Linked DNA regions of Homo sapiens: region 1 is linked to region 2. Evidence: promoter capture Hi-C in 16 types of primary human blood cells and fetal thymus (Javierre and others, 2016). All regions are on one chromosome and are shown on one strand. The core of a region is centred on a gene start or on the middle of the fragment in contact, and the rest is flanking DNA. Distances in the headings are between cores, read along the strand shown.

Evidence for each region. Contacts are between HindIII fragments. The CHiCAGO score rates a contact against its expected background, and 5 or more counts as called.
Region 1: the fragment with the promoter of CRYGB here is called in contact with the fragment with the promoter of PIKFYVE in region 2 in 15 of 17 cell types (neutrophils, M1 macrophages, naive CD8 T cells and 12 more); the score reaches 13.5 in neutrophils.

What each region holds. Positions count from the first base shown.
Region 1 is chr2:208,144,326-208,148,825 of GRCh38, reverse strand. CRYGB (crystallin gamma B) reads left to right here and starts at 2,668. Exons shown (of 3, transcript NM_005210.4): 1 at 2,668-2,714; 2 at 2,810-3,052. The coding sequence starts at 2,706. The region is part of intron 2 of LOC100507443 (a long non-coding RNA gene); the gene reads right to left. RefSeq lists an enhancer at 2,853-3,476. The HindIII fragment of the contact is 1,715 bases long and covers 2,199-3,913 here.
Region 2 is chr2:208,263,166-208,267,596 of GRCh38, reverse strand. It overlaps PIKFYVE (phosphoinositide kinase, FYVE-type zinc finger containing), which reads right to left and starts at 1,342. Exons shown (of 42, transcript NM_015040.4): 1 at 1,182-1,342. RefSeq lists a silencer at 1,056-1,325 and an enhancer at 1,456-1,505. The HindIII fragment of the contact is 8,601 bases long and covers 1-3,022 here.

The sequences.
Region 1 (4,500 bases), core at 1,419-3,918, 120 kb after region 2:
AGACTGGTTGAATTTGTATGACTTAAAGGAAGTTACTCTAGGGTCCTCAATCACTTAAACATCATCCTGCAGATAAAAATCTGGGTAATTTTAAATCAGATCAATGCTCACTACATGATAGTTCATCATGATCCTCAAACACCCACCTATGCATCACACTGAGTATGTTAGGTCTTACATCAAACAGGGTTGTTAATTTAGTCTCTTTAAGAGTTAGAACTTTCAGCACATAAAGACTGTTTACATTGTTTTAGTGAGTCCACTGGGTGAATGATATTCTCCTGAATACTGCCTAGACCTCAAGCATGGGTATAGCTAACCAATAGAGAGTCTAGAACGATTTTTCATTCAGTTTCTCTTCACAAAAAAAATATATATATATGTATTAAAAGGCTAAATGTGATCACCTTAATCAGTATTACTAATCACTTTATTTGAAAGGTGACTTAGAAGAAAACAAGAGAATGCTACACAGTATAAATAACACTGTACAACCACACATGGGTTTGACATATAAAAAAGCTGGGATGATGAAACACCAAAATGTTAACTGCAGTTATCTCAGCTTTATTTTCTTCTTGTAGTGGACGCTCTGGTGCTGCCTGGACTTCCACTGTGGACTGAAGCACTCCTTCTCCCAGATGCTGACAGCTTAAAGCTGAGTTTGTCTCCAAGAATTTTCTTCTGCTGGAGGAAGCTGCCTTGCCCAAAGTTACACTTCTCCATGGCAGCAGCCCACATCAAATTACGGGGCAATGCAGAGGCACAGATTCCCGGTCCACTTGCCTAAGTTCCTGACAACTCTAGCCCTAGCCTTCCCTGCGGGATGGGATGAAGTCACCATTATTGCAATAGCTCTCTCTCAGCTCACACTTACAACTGCCTGCAGGGGTCCCTTCTGACCAGCTGATAGAGTGGGGGAAGGCTGAGCTTGATACACTAATAAATTGGCATGGCATTTGGGTACAAGCCCAAAATAGAATGCTGCTGCAGAATAGCTCACTCAGGAGTCACCCTAAAGACAGCAGTGAGGGAAATCCTCCCAAAAGGCAACCTTGAGGTAGTGCACCTGGCTGCTCACTCGGTGCAGAAAGAAAAGTAGCCCAAGGTCAAGCATATATGGAATTATTGAGCAGTAATGTGTGGCTTGGCTGGCTGGTCCAGGGCCTGGAAGGAGAAAGATTGGAAGATTAGGGACAAGAAGGTCTGGGGTAGAGGAATGTGCAGGGAGATATGGGATTGGGCACAAAGGGCGAAGATAGTTGTATCCCATGTGAAGGCCCAGTGTAGGGCATCCACCATTGAAGAGGCACTAAACAACCAAGTAGAAAAAATGATTTGGTCATTTGATTCCAGTCAGCGTCTGCCATCAGCCACCCTACTGCTGGCAGTGAGCTCACTAAGAGAGCGTTCATAGTGGTATGGATGAAGGCTATGCATTAACTTCTACTTATTAAGGCTAATCCAGCTATTTCCACTGTAGAATGTCCAATCTGCCAGCAATAGGGACCAACTCTGAGCCCTTTTGGTCCCATGCCTTGAGAAGACCAATCAGCCACTTAGTGGTAACATTTGAGGCAGAGCAGGAACACCAAACAGCAGGCAGGACTCTGGACAGCCACCAGCAGAAGGAGGGATTTAGGCCCTTAGGAAGATCTGAAAGGGGGAAGAAAGCCACAACTATCTGTTTTTGCTCAGGTCAGAGCCAATTATTGAGGACCTGCAATGTGCCAACCCTCTGCTCTAGGGCTCAGGGATAGACATGAACAAGAAATAATACCCAGCCCCCAGAAGCCTACAAAATTCCAGGCAAGTATCAGTTTTATTCAAGACAAGCCCCCAAACACCAACAATGATGATCACAGAATTTTTTTTTTTTTTTTTTTGCGACAGGGTCTTGCTCTGTTGCCCAGGCTGGAGTGCAGTGGTGCAATCATGGCTCACTGCAACCTCGACCTCCTGAGCTTAAGCAATCCTCTCACCTCAGCCTCCCAAATAGCTGGGACTACAGGTATGCGCCACCATGCAGGGCTAATTTTTGTATTTGTTGTAGAGATGGGGTCTCACCATGTTACCTAGGCTGGTCTCTAACTCCTGAGCTCAAGCAATCCACCTGCCTCAGCCTCCCAAAGTCCTGGGATTATAGGTGTGCACCACCTCGCCTGGCTGATCACAGAATTTTGAATTTGAACTAAGCTTTATGGGTTTTAACACACTTTCACAGATTACTTCACTTGATTCCCTCTTCTTTAAGATTCCTTACTATTTAAATTCTGGCTTTTAGAACTAAAACACACACACACACACACACAAAAACACCACCAGTCCCTGAGCAGAATTCATTACTTAGTTTAATGACTTTTGAGAAGTCAATTAAGCAGAGTAAACTATAAAATAAAAGCACAGAGACAGAATTTCGCCCATCCTTTTGCTCAACTAAAAGTGTACTCTATTCATTTTGATGGCAACAACAGCTTTAGTGAATTAGAACAACCCGAACCTACCAGAAAGAATGAGAGTAAACCATTCAGCCAACCCCAGTGACCTGGGCACGGAGAGCAGCGAGCTTGCAAATCCCCTTACTCACCAAAATGGGCCCTTTTGTGTGATTTCCTGTGGAGGCAGCAGTCAGGGCTGCTATACATACAGTGACGTTCCCGCAGTCCCACACAGCAACCAGAAAACATCTGCTCACTTCCTTCAAAATGGGAAAGGTAAGTCCTGGGTACCGGATGCTCAGCCTTGGCCCTAATGCAGTGGCCTCAGTGGGGGCCAATCACTCCATGCTCCCACATCTTCCATTTTTCAGATCACCTTCTACGAGGACAGGGCCTTCCAGGGCCGCAGCTACGAATGCACCACTGACTGCCCCAACCTACAACCCTATTTCAGCCGCTGCAACTCCATCAGGGTGGAGAGCGGCTGCTGGATGATCTATGAGCGCCCCAACTACCAGGGCCACCAGTACTTCCTGCGGCGTGGGGAGTACCCTGACTACCAGCAATGGATGGGCCTCAGCGACTCCATCCGCTCCTGCTGCCTCATCCCCCCGGTGAGTGTGGCTCTGTCTTTGCCTTCCATCTTTTTGGAAATAAAAGCTATTTCATGATATTCTTTTTTTTTTTTTTTTTTTTTTTGAGGCGGAGTCTCGCTCTGTCCCCCAGGGTGGAGTGCAGTGGCATGATCTCGGCTCACTGCAACTTCCGCCTCCCGGGTTCAAGCAATTCCCCTGCCTCAGCCTCCTGAGTAGTTGGGATTACAGGCATGCACCACCATGCCCAGCCAATTTTTGTATTCATAGTAGAGACGAGGTTGCACCATGTTGCCCAGGCTGATCTCGAACTCCTGGCCTCAAGTGATCCGCCCGCCTCGGCCTCCCAAAGTGCTGGGATTACAGGTGTGAACCACGGCATCCGGCCTATTTAATCACATTATTCTTAAATCCCAGCTACTCGGGCGGCTGGGGCAGGAGAATTGCTTGCTTGAAGCCGGGAGATGGAGGTTGCAGTGAGCCGAGATCGTGCCACTGCACTCCAGCCTGGTGACAGAGTGAGACTCCATCTCAAAACGACAATAACAACAACAACAACAACAACAACAAACTTTTGCTTGCTTTGTCTTACTTTTCTATTTGATTATTCCTCCTGAGAAGATAGGATCCTGTCTTCTGATTTCTATTCTAATTTAATGGTCAGTACCTATTAGCTCACTTAGAGGTATAAATTAGAGAAAAGGCCAAATCTGAAACTAAAGTTTGAGATTCCATATTTTCTGGGCAGTGACTGCAGAATTCTTAGAATTGTGGTGTGTGGGAGGCATGGGATACAGTGTCATAAAAACAGAAGTTAATGAAGGTGATACTTGCTGCTGAGGGAAATAAATAAGTTGAGAGCAGGAGGCTAGAAAGGAAGCTTAAAAGTCAGATAGGTTGAAATTTGAACTGAAGGCTGGGTGCGGTGGCTCACGCCTGTAATCCCAGCACTTTGGGAGGCCGAGGTCAGGAGGTCAGGAGTTCAAGACCACCCTGGCCAATATGGTGAAACCCCCTCTCTACTAAAAATACAAAAATTAGCTGGGCTTGGTGGCACGCGCCTGTAGTCTCAGCTACTTGGGAGGCTGAGGCAGGAGAATCGCTTGAACCCGGGAAGGGTAGGTTGCAATGAGCTGAGATCATGCCACTGCACTCCAGTCTGGGTGACAGAGCAAGATTCCGTCTCAAAAAAAAAAAAAAAAGAAAAGAAATTTGAACTGAAAATTAGCCAGATGTGGTGGTGCATGCCTGTAGTTCCAGCTACTCAGGAGGCTGAGGTGGGAGGGTCACTTGAGCCCAGAAGGTTGAGGGGGCTGTGACCCATGATCATGCCATTGCACTCCAGCCTAGGTGACAGAGGGAGACCCTGTCTCAAGAAACAAATACATATATGTGTGTGTGTGTGTGCGTGCGCATATAATAGTGAACCCCAAATATCTGAGACAGGTCTCAGTCAATTTAGAAAGTTT
Region 2 (4,431 bases), core at 93-2,592:
AGGCGGAGGTTGCAGTCGGAGGAGATCGCGCCACTGCACTCCAACCTGGGGGACAGAGCGAGACTCTGTCTCTCAAAAAAAAAAAAAAAAAAAACTGGCAATGTAATAATTTAGGAAAGCTGAATATTGGAAATGTTAGCTTCTATCAACAAAGATTTCTTGTTCAATTTTTGACCAACACGCTTAAAGGAAAACCAGAGCAGGATCCAGAAAGCAGAAAAAGGGAGAACACAGGAAATTAGCCTTGCTCCACAGAAGAGATTTAACCTACACAATCTTTGTCACAAACACAAAAGAAAGAACATTTTTTGTAAGAAAACTGACAGAGTGGGAGTTTTGGAGTGCCAAAAAAGGGGCTCAAATAAATCAGAAATAAGTACATTATACCAAGCGACTACCTCTATTGTCAACACTGGACATATTTTACAACACAGGATGCACTGCGTCAATAGTAGATAATGAATCATGTATACACATCAGATACACACGAATAACTTGCTTTATACAGAATTCTAGCACTTCTTATATTTCTTGACTGTCTTAGGAATAACCTCTGATTGGGCAGAAAACCCCTAAGTCCTAAAAGTTTCCAACACATTCCATTCTCATCCTTTTGTTGGGAACATTCTAAGCAAAGGGTAAACACTAATTGGGAAATAATGCTCCTCCTCAAGAAACTCCAAAACCTAAGTTGAAATGGAATCGTCTCAAATAGCAGAGGCAAGCATTTAAAAAGACAAACACTTATTTGAACCCCCACGGTTGGTATCGTTTCTGCAGCTCATGAACTTTCTTTTCCAGCCTACGGATGCGCCTCTGACAAACTCAGAACTCATGCACTCAGAGGGAAAAGTAACTGTACTCTTCCCCTCCTAATTAAGTTCAGGCGTAAGGGTCGAGAGAGAGGCAAAGGAACTTCAAATGTTTCCAAGGAAATCTCAAGGGCCCCACCCGGCTTCCGTCCCCACTCGCCAGACAAGGCAGCCGGGGAATAGGGAGGACAAGCTAATTCTAAAGCCAGATTCTCTGCCCTTCCTTGCTCAGCCGGCAGCCAGGCCCTAGCCCCCGACTGCGGAGCCCTGGTTCTCACTTTCACCTCAGCTCTGGCCCTGGAGCTCCCCATACCGGCCTCCTTCCCATGCTGAGCCCCAGCCGGCCAAGCTCCAGGCCCCCTCCCTTACCTGCGCCTCCTGCCCCGGCCGCGCCGGCTGCCCCCCGCCCCAGCCTCCGCTTCAACGGCTCAGCCCCCGGAAGTCGGCCCCCGAGAGCGGCGGTGGGCTCCTCAGGCCGCGGACGGTTGCGGCAGGAAGCGAAGCTGCTTACATGGTTGATGCGGCTTCTCGCTTCCCCCCCCCAAGACTCCGCCCTCTGTTTTCCTGTCCCCCAGTCCGAAATCTTTCCCGGGGGCCGGCTCCTCCCAGCCCGGCCGACGCTCGGATCAGATGCTCAGGCAGAAGGAGTCCAGCCCAGATCGAGTCGTCCTGATCTTTTGGCCGAGATTAGGCCGCTTCAGCCTTCCTGGAAGAAGCCAGGGGGACTGCGCGCGTGAGCGTCACGCATGCGGGGTCAACGGATGGGTGCTTGGTGCTCTGGGCACTGCAGGGGTGCTGGCTGGACTGCGGTTACCGTATGTGTTCGATACTGTGGGCACTCATAATATGTTATTGCTTTGTTGTAGACAGTTCACTCGTGTAGCACTGAACCGGAGTTAGCGATGACTCTGTTTCCAGACTTGCATGACTCCACCAATAACCAGCCATATGATCTTAAGCAAATTGCTCATTTATTTAGGCCTTAGACCTCTGGTGTGTAAAGTCGGATTAATAAAAGGACTCACTTCTTAATACTTTTTTGAGATTAAGTAAATGCACTTAAAGCGAATGGCACAGTTCCCTGACCCAGAGTAAGTGATGTCGGCTTTATAGTTAATTTTTTCATTTAGGTGTTGTGTTGCAAATGCTGATGCAAATAAAGTTACCAAGCCCAAGCCCTATCTTGTTCAGCTTGGCTAGAGTTATTCGTCATTTCTGTCCTGCTGAGAGCGCAGTGCAGTTAACTGCAGAAAACATGCTCGCCGCAGTTGTGGGGCTTGGTAGGGGAGGATGGAAAGCAGACGAAACCTAAAGGGAAATGCAGTTTTAAATTCTGTGAGTCCTTTTCCTCAAGAGTTTTGTCAAATCCCAGCCCAGTTTTCCTGGAGTTGGAAAGCACCATCGAAACCTGCAGGTTGAGTCCAGTGCAAATCCCAGTCACCATCCTCAGCTGGGCCCTTCAGCAATCTTTCTGGGAGTCTGTAGTCAGCTTCTCCCATTCCTTATTACTGCTGCGTCAGACCACCACCACGACCCCCACATTACCTTGACCATCATTCTCATCAGAGAATCATATTTTATACCCACGTGAAAAATCCCAAGGTATCTGGGCGTGACCCTTAACAAGCTAATTCCCCACACACCACAACATTTACCTACATCCACATCTGCCCTGGTCTGCCTTTCTCCCTCATCTCTCTGAGGAAGGGGCCTCTTCTTCCCCAGCTCAATCCTTTTGGCCCCCAATTCACCCTCTCCTGTCTGGGAGCTTGCACCGTATCTGCAACCTCCCCTTTTCCAATGACTCTGCCTCCTCAGCCCATAAAGATGCTCAAGTCTCTGCCTTCCTTTAAAAAAATTTTTTTTAAAAATTTAAGATAAGCAAAAAAGGCCCTCGTAATTATCACCCTATGTTAATATTTCATAAACCTACAATAAAGTATGAAATAGGTACAGAGATCATATGAAAAGAATAAATTGCCCAGCCACGACGACTGCAGTGTATGTAGAAACTCCATCTATGGTTTAAAAAAAAAAAAAAAAAGTGCACTCCGCAAATATTTTTGAGTCCCTAATTTAACCTGCAGTGTGTTAGTTATAGAAGCACTACACTAAGGATAGAATTATGAACGTATCCCACTGCTTCACTTGACTAGCCTAAAAAATAAAAATATATGTGAACATTACACAGTCCATGTCCTCAAGAAGCTTACCGTCTAATATCTATATTAGCTTACAGTTTAATTTCTGTGGAAAAGAGATTGAAAACTGGGCTACTGTTTTTGCAAAAGAAATCATTTTAGATTCTCACTTCACACTAGACATCCAAAATTAATTCCAGATGAATTTTATCTGTAGAGAGATTATTTGTCTGTGTATATATCCTCCTCAAAAACTTTCATTCAAGCACAGATTTAGGATTCTTGCTGAATCAATTATTGTTCGATGATATTATACTTCTATTCCTCTGTATGTATTAGTTGAATTTTACTGCAACTAATAGCGTTCCATCTTTTTCTTTCTTTCTTTATATTGGTTAGTATGACTTTGGACTCATTTTTTTCCAACATGTTATAGTTCATTACTGCCACTATTCATTTCTGTGCTCCAGGTGTCCCCGCCTTGGCTGGTGTGAGCCCCTTCCAGCAGACTCCTGAGTCCATTTGACATGCCTCCATTACCTTTTGAGCACATCTTACTTTTTGTTCTTTTTCTCTCTCCGCCACCCCTTACCCCTGGCAACCACCATTCTACCCACTACTTCTATGAGTTCAACATTTTTAAATTCCATATATATGAGATCTTGTGGTATATTTCTGTGTCTGGTTTATTTCACTTAACATAATGTCCCCAGGTTCATCCATGTTGTCACAAAAGACAGAATTTCCTTATTTTTTAAGGCTGAATAATGTTCCACCGTATATATATACCACATTTTATTTTATTTTTTTGACATGGAGTCTGTCACCAAGGCTGGAGTACAGTGGTGCAATCTGGGCTTACTGCAATCTCCACCCTCTGCCCCAACCCCCCCGACCTCCACCCCACCCCTATTCTCCTGCCTCAGCCTCCCGAGTAGCTGGGATTACAGGCGCCTGTCACTGCACCTGGCTAATTTTTGTATTTTTAGTAGAGACGGGGTTTCACTGTCTTGGCCAGGCTGGTCTTGAACCCCTGACCTCGTGATCCACCTGCCTCAGCCTCCCAAAGTGCTGGGATTACCGGCGTGAGCCACAGTGCCCAGCCCCACATTTTCTTTATTCAGTTGTTCATTGATGGACACTTAGGTTGATTTCATATCTTGGCTATTGTGAATAATGCTGCAATAAAGATGGGAGTGCAGATACCTCTTAAAAATAGTGATTTTGGCTGGACACGGTGGCTCGCGCCTGTAATCCTAGCACTTTGGGAGGCCAAGATGGAAGGATTGCTTGAAGCCAGGAGTTCAACACCAGCCTGGTCAACATAGCAAGACCCCATCTCTATAAAAAGATTTTTTTTAATTTCAATAAAAGAAAAAATAGTGATTTTATTTCCTTTGGATATATACCCTGTAGTGGGATGGCTGGATCACATGATAGTTTTATTTTTAAATTTTTTGGCAACTTCCATACTGTTT